Regions from separate parts of the Homo sapiens genome. Here all the other regions are linked to region 2. Evidence: promoter capture Hi-C in 16 types of primary human blood cells and fetal thymus (Javierre and others, 2016). All regions are on one chromosome and are shown on one strand. Each heading gives the region's core, a stretch centred on a gene start or on the middle of the fragment in contact. The rest is flanking DNA. Distances are from core to core; before and after follow the strand shown. Region 1 has its middle 91 kb from the start of DUSP26. Region 2 holds the start of KCNU1 (potassium calcium-activated channel subfamily U member 1). Region 3 has its middle 74 kb from the start of DUSP26.

What was found. The method cuts DNA at HindIII sites, captures the fragments that hold promoters and counts their contacts. A CHiCAGO score of 5 or more calls a contact.
Region 1: a contact is called between a fragment that was not itself captured here and the fragment with the promoter of KCNU1 in region 2, in 1 of 17 cell types (M2 macrophages). The highest score is 5.1, in M2 macrophages.
Region 3: a contact is called between a fragment that was not itself captured here and the fragment with the promoter of KCNU1 in region 2, in 2 of 17 cell types (M0 macrophages and M2 macrophages). The highest score is 12.9, in M0 macrophages.

The regions. Positions count from the first base shown.
Region 1 is chr8:33,688,745-33,693,194 of GRCh38, reverse strand. No RefSeq gene overlaps it. Among named protein-coding and RNA genes, the nearest start is that of DUSP26, 91 kb to the right of the region's middle. The HindIII fragment of the contact is 362 bases long and covers 2,528-2,889 here.
Region 2 is chr8:36,782,235-36,786,590 of GRCh38, reverse strand. KCNU1 (potassium calcium-activated channel subfamily U member 1) reads right to left here and starts at 2,217. Exons shown (of 27, transcript NM_001031836.3): 1 at 1,986-2,217. The coding sequence starts at 2,180. The HindIII fragment of the contact is 1,918 bases long and covers 1,907-3,824 here.
Region 3 is chr8:33,671,866-33,676,185 of GRCh38, reverse strand. No RefSeq gene overlaps it. Among named protein-coding and RNA genes, the nearest start is that of DUSP26, 74 kb to the right of the region's middle. The HindIII fragment of the contact is 3,391 bases long and covers 194-3,584 here.

The DNA.
Region 1 (4,450 bases), core at 1,459-3,958, 3.1 Mb after region 2:
AACACATCGGCAGAAGAAGACACAAGTGGCTGGACGTTGAAAGGACGTCAAGGGGAGCATGCCGGCAGGCCATTGACCAGCAGAATGAGGCAGAGTTTGACTGGGGCAGTCAGAGGAGAGCCCGGGACACCAAGTGGCCCAGCTCCAAGGAAAAATCATCTCCATTCTGGCTCCCCCATCTGCTGAGAGCTACTTCTACTCAATAAAACCTTGCACTCATTCTCCAAGCCCACATGTGATCTGATTCTTCCGGTACACCAAGGCAAGAACCCCAGGATTCAGAAAGCCCTCTGTCCTTGTGATAAGGCAGGAGTCTAACTGAGCTAACACAAGCTGCCTACGGATAGCTAAACTAAAAGAGCACCTTGTAGCACACGCCCACTGGGGCTGCAGCTGTGAACATTCACCCCAGACACTGCCGTGAGGTCGGAGCCCCACAGCCTGCCTGTCTATATGCTGCCCTAGAGGTCTGAGCAGTGGAGCACTGAAGAAGCAAGCCACACCCCTGTGGCTCACCCTGTGAGGGGGACAAGGGAACTTTTCCCATGTCACCAATACTCATAGCAGCATTATCCACAGTTGTCAAAAGATGGAAACAACCCAAGTCTCCATCAACAGATGAATGGATAAACAAAATATACATATACACACACTAGAAAATTATTCAGCCTTAAAAAGGAAAGACATTCTGATACATGCTACAAAATGAATAAAACTTGAAATAAGCCAGATACAAAAGGACAAATCTTGTGTGATTCCACTTATATGAGGTACCTAGATTAAGCAAATTTGTAGAGACAGAAAGTAGAATGGAGTTATCCAGGGACTGTCGGGAGAGAGGAATGGGAAGTTATTGTTTGTGGGTACAGAGTTTCTTTTTGGGATGATGAAGAAGCTCCAGAAATGAATGGTGGTTATGGCTGCACAGCAATATGAATATACCTAATGTCACTGAACTGTACATTTAAAAATGGTTAAGATAGTAAACTTTGTTATGTGTGTACCACATATTTTAAAACCACAACTTTAAAACAACAACCAAGAACAATTTATATTCAATGAGGATGGGATTCTCACGCTGACAGAAATACCTCACTCTAGGAAAGGAGGTTTAATTGACTAACGGTTCTGCAGCCTGTACAGGAAGCATGGTACTGGCATCTGCTTGGCTTCTGAGAAGGCCTCAGGAAACCTATAATCATGGCAGAAGGCAAAGGGGAGCCCCCACACAGACAGAACCACGAGGAAGAGAGAGAGCGGGGAAGTGCCAGACACTTTTAAACAACCAGATTTCAAGAACACTCACTCATTATCACGAGGACAGTAGCAAGAGGGATGGTGCTAAGCCATTCAGGACAAATCCACCCCCATAATCCAATCACTTCCCACCAGGCCTCATCTCCAACATTGGGGATTACAATTCCACAGGAGATTTGGTGGGGACACAGATCCAAACCATATCAGGAGGGAACCGATAGTAAAAGTTACTTAGAAGTCATGACTTTCGAACTGGGCTCTGAAGGGTGAATAGAAGTTCGCTAGATGATGAGTCAGAAGTCTGACTTTAAGTTCTGGAGCTGCCACTTACTGATACGTGGCTCTTTTTTCCTCATCTATAAAGGTGGGAAAAGATATACCATACAGTTGTGGTGATGAGATAACATGTCTGAAAATGATTTATAAACTATAGCAGGATTCACTGACAAGTGATATAAAGTAAAATGATGGCAGGAAAGACCTTTAGACATTGTATCCATATTGTTCAGCCCAGGATATTCTCTAAACTCTAAACAGGATAGGCTTCACTCCCTCCTGTCCCAGCCTGAATGAAGTTAAGAAAGAGCAGATAAGGAACAGGAGTTAAACAGCGAGATTTTGAAACTATATTCTTATTCTAGTATAGGAGTGTCATGTAGCCACTAAAATTCAGAAACAGGAAGATGTGGAGAAGAAATATGGGAAGGCATTGAGCATTCTGCTTCCTTCCCCTAATATATTATAAATCACAACTCTGATTTATAACTGTGTAAATATACAGATACAAAAACAAGAACTGAAAGTCAATATGCAAAAGTGAAACAAAGGGGTCACATTTTTCTTTTAATTTCATTTGATTTTTTTTATTATTTTTGCGATAACAAATGAGGACAAGAAAATAAGCATTCTATTCCCTTTTTAAATGTTTATCAGCTAATTTCTCGCTGAATACTTGCCCACAATCTCTGTCATTACTGACTTCCAAGGTGATCAAAGGCCCAGTACCTTTAAACCCTGGGGGCCTAGAGGGTAGCATTTGCTTCTAGCAATGACAGAAGTTTGCACAGAACAACTGGAGGATGCTCCAAGACCCCTTCACGGTAAAGAGCTGCTGCCTTCTATAGATTTATGACTCTGGGCTCCTGGGGACACTGAGGGCACAGGAAAAGCCATCACATCATGTTTGGCCTTGGGCTCTGATTCAAAGGCTGCAGCTTCCAAGGCCCTTGCCCTTCCCATTCTGAAAGACAAGGTGCTGACTCCGAAAGCTTGCAATGTTCATTTTGATTTCCTCAGATGCTGGCATTATTTCTCAGAGCAGGTCTTCCCCCAACTGCTTCTCTAGATGGGAGTGAGCCATAAACTATTTCGGCTGCTAAACTCATAACTAGATCAAGGAGAGAAACTAGGAATGGCAGGTTGGTTTTATACCCTCATGCTGTCTCTCCAGTCTATCAACATGTGGACCCATATGTATTAGCACCCCTCTCATACATCAGAAGCTGTAGCCTATAAACAGGGGAAACAGAATCAGAGGGACATCTCAATTTCACTCTGCAGATGGAAGGCCACTCTCACAGAGAGAGAAAACTTAACCCTGTAACTACATAGCTGCTCTCTTCAGCCAAAGCTTTGATTCTGCCAGCATGAGGGCCCCCATTCCCAAAGTGGAGGTGAAACGGGAGAGTTCCCTTATCCCCCTTGCAGGATGTGCAACAGGGATGTGGCTTGCCCCTTCAGTTGCCCCACTGCTCAAGCCTCTAGTGGGAGCATGCAGACGGGCAGGTGCAGGGGCCCTGGGGTTGCTCTGGGGCTCCAGCCCCACGGCAGCATCTAGGGGTGGGTGTCTGCAACTCCCCAAGCCCAAGTGGGCATATGTTACAGAGTGCTCTTTCAGCTTTGCCAGCTGCAGAAGGCTTGTGTTAATCAGCTCAATAGACCCTCTGCCTTATCGCAAGGGAAGAGGGCCAATGTGACAGCTTTCTGTATCCCGAGCTCTTTCCCAGTGTACCAGAAGAATTGGCTCACAGGATGAATGCAAGGTTTTGTTGAGTGGTAGAGGTGGCTCTCAGCAAGATGGATGGGGAGCTGGAAGCGGGGATGGAGTGGGAAGGTGATCTTCCCCTGGAGTGGGGCTGCCCAGCGGCCGGACTCTTCCCCGACTGCCCCCCGGCTGAACCCTCCTCGATGTCCAGACTTCCTTTTTCTTCTCTCTTTCTCTGTCACGTTGTTCTGTCATCACCGGTCTGCTGGTTCCAATATTCACCTGCTTGTGTCTGTGCCCACTAAGGGCTCATGTTTATATGGGCACAAGATGGGGGCTTCAGTGGGCGGGGGAGGGGGCACAGTGGTCTTAGAAAATGCAACATTTGGGTTTGAAAACAGGAGTTCCTGTTCTCATGTAGGTCCACAGGCACAGGCTTGAGGGTGGACCCCCCACCAAAGACCCAGACCTTCTGTACCCAACACTTCCCTGCCCCACTCCCGTGTCAGAAGGACTGTGTATGGTTGTGCTGCCTGTCTGTGCACAAGGGTTCCTGGCTAGGAGCAGTGGGGGCTGACCTCCAGCACAAGGCACATGCAACCTGTCATGTTCCTGGCCCAGGGACAGCTGCCTGGAGGAAGGAGTGCCTTTTTCACAATGGTATGATCTGCTCCCCAAGCTGCACTGCTAAGGGGTATACTGCCTGCCCTGTGGGGGTACCCTTTTCTAATTCACACAAAACACAGTATCCACTAGCAGTGGCCCAACCTGAGCAAACTGAGAAAGCCATCCTGGAGGTGCCTGTGTATCTTGCATCTGAATAGCACAGAAACCTGCCTGTAAACTGTACATCCAAGACCCAAGTAGGGAAGCTGAGTATTTTATGTTATTTTCTTATAAAAGGTTCTTTATGGCAGGGCGAGGTGTCTCACACCTGTAATCCCAGCACTTTAGGAGGATGAAGTGGGAGGACGGCTTGAGGTCAGGAGTTCAAGACCAACCTGGGCAACACAACAAGACCATGTCTCAAAAAAAAATAATTTAAAAATTAGCCAAGCATGGTGATGCATGCCTATAGTCCCAACTACTCAGGAGGATGAGACAAGAGGATCACTTGAGCTCAGGAGTTGAGGCTGCAGTGAGCTATGAGCCCACCATTGCACTCCAACCTGGGTGACAGAGTAAGACCCTGTCTCTAAGAAAATATGT
Region 2 (4,356 bases), core at 968-3,467:
AGAAATACACAAACCAACTAGGACTACCCACACCAAGCTAGATGAGTCCCTCTGACTTTCAAAAAAGCTCATTTTATATGAAGCCAGGATTTCAAAATCACTTAATTTTTCTACTCATATTTTCTGAATGATAAAAAGGGAAGTCTCATTAAAAAACTCTTTGATAAAAGTTCACATCCTGATCAATGATTTGCCCTCTAATAAACATGACTCATGTCGGTTTCTAAATGTTGTCTGAGAATTAATTTTAAAAAATCCTAGGTATGACATTAATATAGAATACTCATTTGAATTCCATCATAAAATTGGAGCTACCTTCTGTGGAAAAACAAATTGGTCCTAAGATATAATAAACTCATATTTATAGATGTAATACATGTTTTAAATGCACATTTAAGGAGAGAAATTGTAACTCTCCAAATAATTTTTAAAATAACTCTTCACAGTACACCTAGATTTCTGATTTTTTTTTTTTTTTGCATTTGTCCAACTTCTCCAAAGGCTTAGAGAAAAACAGGTCACTCTTAATTTGATGTAATAAAACAAATCATTGAAAAGTAACTCAACTTGATCAAACTCTTTCCTCAAGATTCAAAAGCAGAATGGTACAGCATTCTGGTTGCTCAGGCTCACTTCTTAACATTTTGTAACATTTGCTAAATATTTGTAATTAAAGGGTATACCTGGATCGAAGTGTAGACATAAATTACACCCAAAGTAAGAAATGAAAAATATAGGAAATTGACAAATGTACTGTCACATTTTTGTAATCACACAAAATGAACATAATGGAGAAGAAGAACATTGCCTGGAGCAGAAGACTAAGAAGATTTAAAAATCCTACAAATTCAGTTGTGCATTAACAACAACAAAACAAGGTAGAAACAAGGAGGCAGATCCATCATAGCTATTTACCCATATGTCAGTATCCCAGAATTCTTTCTCCAATTATTGTGCCACAGCTTAAAATCCATAATGTAGAAATAATCAATAGAATAAACTTGTTTAGGAACAAAATCTATAAGCTTCAGTATTGGATAATTTTCAAATATGGAAAACAAAATTCCATATTACCAATAACTTTAAAAACTTATCAATTTATGAATTATATTTTATGTAGGTTTTAGCACTAAAAGAAATGTTTTAAGCAAATTTTCAATATTATGATGCACAGGTGAAATGTGTTGTGTTATGGAAATTGCTATAATCTATCAGAGAAAGAAAGTTTGGGAAGCAAAATTGGAAACAAACTACACAGGGTATAGTAAAACTCTTCACCTTTGACCTCTGGTAATAGAACATCCATTACACAGCATTTGAGAGCTTTATTTCAAGCTCTTAAGCAATGCCTTATCTGTATAATACATCATTTATTCTCATCATCATCATTTGCCAGCTGTTATTCAACAACATCAACTCCTGCTAAGCTTGTTTGGGTATAAGAAATGTCCTTGCATCTATGCCTGGATGGCACAGGCATGTATGCATGGGCTTCTCTGTGTATGTGCAACTCAATGTGTTGTCTTCATATGGTATACAAAAGGCAATGTACACGTCAGTACATATGCATTATGCATGAACAATTTATGAAAGCAAGGTTGATGTTGATGTCTTGTTCCCTTTCACCTCCTTTCTATGACCTAGCACAATTGTCTTGTTAAAATTCGAGATAGAGGCATGGACATAATGTTTATGAACTTTTTTTCAGAACAGTGACCTCTGTTTCCAGAGCTAACATTAATCATTATCCATACAAGACATTGCTTTTTCCAGTGATGGGAGAGAGAAGAGGCTTGGCCCTGTCTCTTCAGGCCTCAGAATGTGGCCTGAGGTCTGGCTTACCACCCTTTCTGAGGCACCAGGCTATAGAAGCTGACTCTGTTAGCTTGAAAAACTGAATGAAGCTTAGATCTTTTACTAAACACAAAACTACCCCAAACTCATCTCTGACTTCACACAGAGGGATCCCTAACAAGGAAACTGACCAAGATAATTCCTGTTCCCTTGATGATTTGCCATTTTTTAACAGATCTCCAGATCAGCCTGAAGATCAACAGGATGATGAGTCCACTGAAGAAGGTCACAAAGGAAGAGAGAATGAATGCTGCTTGGATCTCAGTTGTGCAGGACATTTTTGGCAAGTCTTCCCAAGTTTCATTTCGTAGCTTAGTCTGAAACATGTTCGAGACATCAGTAGACGGAATTGCCAGGTCATTTGATGACGCCGTGGTCGCCTGGTAACAATTCCAGGAATCAGAGTTCACTGTACCACAGTGTTCCAACATTAGGCGTGATAACCAGTGAGAAGTTCCAGGAACAAGGGTCTGCCAATCCCCCGGTGCCAGCTCATGGGTTGTGAATGAATACACAACTGGAGATGGCTGGGGCCTACAATATGAATAGTCAAAAAAATCATAATTCTAGATCGGATTGTTACGACTTTCTCTATGCCTTGAAGAAATCCCATTATCTGTAGCAATGATCAGCTGGTTATCAGTTCAGTTAATGCAGTCAAATAATTTCAAATCAACTCTTTCGGAGTGAAACAACAGCCAACTATGTGTGTGAATGAGTTGGTTCTCTATCTGGGAGGATGCCACGTGCTTAGTAGGCTTGGAAGGACAGAAGAGAGAAGTACTTTAAAGTTTTTGTTTATCCTTTATACAAAGGAGCAGATATGCAGAATGAATAAGTCTAGAAGATCTAGTGTGCAGAACAAAGAACATAATTAATAAAATTATTTGTATTCAGGATTTTTGCTAAAAGAGTAGATTTTAAGGGCTCTTGTTACACGCACACAAAAGATGATTAACTCTGTGAGATGATAGATATATGAATTTGCTTGACTGTAGTCACTGCTTCACTATGCATAAGTTTATCAAAAGAGCATTTTGCGTTTGTACTTGTATGCGGAAGCTAAAACAGTGGATCTCATAAAGATAGAGAGTAGATTCATGGTTACGAGATGCCGGGAAGGGTGGCTGAGGAAAGAAGTTGGATAAAGAGAAGTTGATTAATGGGTACAAATATTTGGTTTGATAGAAGAAATAACATCTAATGTTCTATAGATCAGTGAAGTGACTATAGCTTATGATAATCTATTGTACATTTAAAAATAGCTAGAAGAGAAAAATTTGAATGTTTCTAGCACAAAGAAAATACAAATATGTAAGTTGATTGATATCCCAAGTACACAAATTATGTGAATGTATTAAATTATCACGTGACTTGAAAATATGTGTATCTGCTGTGCATCAATCCAAAGAATATCACGTTGTACTCCTTAATTACACACAATGAAAATCAAGATTATCTTGAAACAGAAAAAAAAAGGTTTTGTTTATTCTTTACATAAGAAAGGCATAGTATAGAGTGCAGGTATTGAAGAAGACAATTTAACTAGTGTGGTCATTGGTTGATTGTTATTTCAGCCCATAAATCCATTCCACTTATCTCTTCTTTATGGAACTCTCCCCTTTCTTGCTTTTATTACTGCCCTGGCAGCAAACCTTTTGGCCCAGCAGAGGTAAAGTTCAGAATGAGAGAAATTTCTTTGATTTTCCCTGATGTTTTCAAAGGTGTAAGAAATGTCATGCCTTTCAGTGTGCACAAGTGGCAGGCAAAATGTCAGAGCCCAGTGGAGGGCCTAGTTCACCCCAGTTATTACCAAGATAACCTGACACCAGGTGAAGAGGCCCAAGAGGAATCATCACGCTGTCCTTGGGAGCCCGCCATGACTCCACACTGTTTGGCAGGCTGTTTCAGAAGATAACTGTAGCATTTCCTAGGACTGCTGCCACAGTTACATTTCCTGCTTTTAAGCTTACCTATCATTTCTACAAAATCCTGTCATTGAGCTAGCTAATAACAAAGGGCGATGTTTAAAAGAACACTGGTCTAGGAGTTAGGAGCCCTGCGTTCCAGCCCAGTCCTTCTATTAAGTTACTGTGTGATTTCTAACAAGTCATTTTAATGTTCGTAGTCTTTTGATTTTATGTGGAAGATAATACCTACTTGATAGAATTATTGTGGGGATTCAAGAAGGTAGTGTGAACATATTTTGAAAAGCATAAAACTCAATATAAGATGCCATTAGCCATTTCAGTTCCTTTTTTGAATGGCATTAATTATAAAGACAGGAGGAGGAAGAAGTAAAGGAAAGGAGGGAGAGAAAGAAGGAAGGAGGGAGGCAGGGAGGGAGGTAGGGAGGGAGGTAGGGAGGGAGGAAGGAAGGAAGGAAGGAATGAACGGAGGGAGGGAGGGAGGAAGGAATGAGGGAAGGGAGGGAGGAAGGAAGGAAGGGAAGGAGGGAGGGAGAAATCACTTGTTTATCTCTTTCACATATGTGTGTGTGCG
Region 3 (4,320 bases), core at 640-3,139, 3.1 Mb after region 2:
TGTTAAAAAAAAAAAAAAAAAAAAAAAAAAACAGAAAGAAAATGTAACTGAAGCCAAAAGCTATAAAACCTAATTAGCAGCTGAGTGAGGAACCCTTGAGAAGAATTGGAAGACTCAAAGACTGTTGAACAGGAGCTCTGAGAAGACAAAGTATTCAACTAGATGATCATCTTGTTAGAGTTGAGAAAAAGCTTAGTGAATATTTACGTACAACTTACCTACCATAAAATTTACATTAAACGAGACTTATCTGTATCTTGTCAGCATAAAGTTGTTTCTAAGAATGTTTACCAAGAATGGCAAAGAGCTTTCCTGTAATATTGATTTGCTTTAATAGTGCCAATGATTGCTGATTTATAATTCTGATACTATGAATGTTTGTTATAGGAAATTACATTTGTTAAAATGTGTGCTATAGCAAATTGTTAGTTCACTAAGAGTGTAAACTATTTTTGTCATGGAAGTCTTATTTTAACCACCCACCTTGTGACAATTAACTCAATTTCTATAATCTTATCAAATTTGTTACTTCATTTGTACATAAGTGAATCAGCATTCCTTGTTACTCAAAAATCATCAAGCCTTTTTTTAGGCTTTTTTAAACAAATATTTTGTATTCTAAAAGTTGTATCTCTAAAGTAAAATTTAAATTATTTTCTTTTTTTAATTTTTGTTTTTATTATATTTTGTTTTTATCATGGCCTATATTATTACTTTGGTAACATTCTCTTTAACCCTCAAACTAATAAAAAACTGTCACTCATCACAAAAGACTGGGTAAATTAAGAAGTACAGTTGATCCTTGAATAATATGGGTTTGAATTTCAGGTGAGTTTTCCTTTGCCTCTGCCACACCTGAGACAGCAAAACCAATCAAATCTTTCTCTTCCTCCTCTTCCTCTGCCTCCTCAATGTGAAGACAATGAAGATGAAGACCTTTATGATGATCCACTTCCACTTAATGAATAGTAAACGTATTTTCTCTTCTGTGTGATTTTCTTAATAACATTTTCTTTTCACTAGTTTACCTTATTGTAAGAACACAGTACATACTGCATATAACACAAAATACGTATAATCGACTATTTATGTCATTGGTAAGGTTTCCAGTCAACAGTAGGCTATTAGTAAAGTTTTGGGGGAGACAAAAGTTATACACAAATTTTCAACTGCATGGGGTGCCCATAATCACCACATTGTTCAAGGGCCAATTGTATTCATTGAGCATTGAGAATATACTTTATCTGAACATTAGTAATAATAAAAATAAACTTTTTTGGAATTTTAGACTCTACTTGCCAACGTAACCAAACTCAGGTCCAGCTGCTTGCCACTGGAAAACCAAAATTAAAGAAGCAAGATGCTTTGAAAAGAAAGCAACTGTATTCAAAGGCTAGCAGCTAGGAGATGGTTGGGCTCAAGTCCCAAAGGAACCATCTCAAAACTTTAGGCAAGTGAGTGTGTTCAAAAAGTGAAGTTGGCATGGGAAGCATGCGGGAGTGGTGCAGGGTCTGTATGTCTTGTTCTGACTGCCATCTTCAGTTATTGTCCACCTGGAGCGTGGGCTGGTGCCATCTCAAGGTGACAATGGCTGTGTTGCAGACTAACTGCCTTGAGGTAATCTCTACATGGGGAGGATTCTGCAGCTGGGTCTCTATGCCTGATTTATTTCAAGATTAGCCCCTGTAATTTATAAGCAAGCACATAGTTAGATAAGCAAGTGCAGTGCAAGGGACCTTGCCAACTTTGTTACTTCATTTGTACATAAGTGCATTGGCATTACTTGTTACCCAAAAATCAACACACCTTTTCTTAGGCTTTATTTTAAATAAATCCTTTTTGTTTAAAAAAAGTAGCAGGTGGCCAGGTGTGGTCTCTCACACCTGTAATCCCAGCACTTTGGGAGGCCGAGGCAGGTGGATCACTTAAGATGAGGAGTTTGAGACCAGCCTGGCCAACATGGTGAAACCCTGTCTCTACTAAAAATACAAAAATATTAACCGGGCATGGTGGCAGATGCCTGTAATTCCAGCTACTTGGGAGGCTGAGGCGGGAGAATGACTTGAACCTGGGAGACGGAGGTTGCAATGAGCCCAGATCGCGCCACTGCACTCCAGCCAGGGTGACAGAGTGAGACTACATCTCAAAAAAAAAAAAAAAAAATTAGTCAGGCCTGATGGCATGCACCTGTCATCCTAGCTACTCAGGATGCTGAGAGAGGAGAATTGCTTGACCCTGGGAGGCAGAGGTTTCAGGTTGCTGAGATAGTGCCACTGCACTCCAGCCTGGGTGACAGAGACCCTGTCTCAAAAAAAAAAAAAAAAAAAAAAAAAGTAGAACTACTATATAATCCAGCAATCCCGCCTCTGGCATAAATCCAAAAGCATTGAAATCAAGACCTCAAAGAGGTATTAGCACTCTCATATTCATTACAGCGCTGTTCACAATAGCCAAGATGTGAAAACAATCTAAACATCTATCGGTAGATGAATGGATAAAGAAAATGTGGTATATGCATACAATGGAATATTATTCTACCTTAAAAAAACAAAGTTCTGCAATATGCAACAACATTAACCTAAGATAAACCTTGAAGATATTATGCTAAGTGAAACAGGTCTCATCACAGAAGAACAAATACTGCATGATGCCACCAATAGGGAGTATCTCAAATAATCGAACACATAGAATCAAAGAGTGGAATGGTGGTTGCCAGGTCTGGGGAGAGGGAAATGGGGTACTGCTAATCAACAGCATACAGTTTCAGTTAAGCAAGATGAAGTTCTGGAGATCTGCTGTGCAACATTATAGCCTGTAACGTGTAGGTTATAACCTATAATAGTATTGTAACCTACAGTTAACGATACTGCATTGTACACTTAAAAAGTTGCAAAGAGATCGGATCTCATGTTGAGCGCTCTTACCACAATAAAATACAATTTTTAAAAAGCACTAATATATATAAAATGAGACAATACGTCACAAAATAGTCTATTCTACATCATTGCACCTATTATTAAAATGCTGCAGCCTGAACACTGTGGCTCGCACCTGTAATCCCAGCACTTTGGGAGGCCGAGGCGGGCAAATAACTTGAGGTCAGGAGTTCAAGACCAGCCTGGCCAACATGATGAAACCCTGTCTCCACAAAAAATATAAAAATTAGCCAGGCATGGTGGTGCGCACCTGTAATCCCAGGTACACAGGAGGCTGAGGCAGGAGAATTGGTTGAACCTGGCGGGCAGAGGTTGCAATGAGCAGAGATTGCATCACTGCACTCCAGCCTGGGCAGCAGAGTAAGTAAAACTCCATCTCAAAATAAAGTGAAATAAAATAAAATGCTTCATATGATTATGGTAATTATTAGAATAAAGCATTCAGTCCAGAAACCTCAGGGGTGGTTGTCTAACTATGGCTTTGAATAGCATTATTTTACTTAGGAGAAATTCTGTTTCCACCCACTACCCAGTTTTTGTGGATATTAATAATTATCTGGTTTGGTTGCCTTGCATCCATTCCTTTATTGATTTATTTTAATGGCAATAGTATCCCAATTTCCTTTACTCTCCTCAGGAATACAAGCTTTTTTTTATTCTCAAGCTACATGATTTGGAGGGTATCCACCCCAGATTAGGAGTGGAATATGTAACCTCGGGTTGACAGTCGTGGCCTCAACATTCTCTAGTCCAGTGATTGATCAATGTGAACATGTGACCTAGATCTGGTCAAACGGCAAACTTCATTTCCTGGATACAGTGATTGGTTCAGTAATATCAAATTGGTCCAATCATAGTTAATCCCAGGATTTATGGAGGAGCTATAGGAAAGAGACTTAATTTTTTCTTTTCTGTTGAACTTAGATTTAGGAAGATATTATCTTACAATTGCCAGAGGTCTCACATGAAGCCTGTGGATGAAGCTGACTATAAAACCAAGAGATAGGGCCAGGTGCAGTGGCTCACACCTGCAATTTCAGCACTTTGGGAGGCCAAGGTGGGTAGATTCCTTGAGGCCAGGAGTTCAAGACCAGCCTGGACAACTTAGCAAGACTTCGTCTCTACAAAAAAAAAAAAAAAAGAAGAAGAAGAAGAAGAAGAAAATTAAAAAAATAAAAATAAGAGATGGAGAGAAACTAATTTCAGATGACAGTACCTGAAGCCAGCTTTCCCCTGGGATTTTTCTGCTATACCATATGTGCTAATAAACTCCCCCTTTTGCTTAACTCAGTTTGAAATGAGTTTTGTGTTATCTACAACCTAATTTACTACTTAGAAGTAAGTTAGAAGCGTAAGTTACCAATCTTTCCAAATGAGATATTTC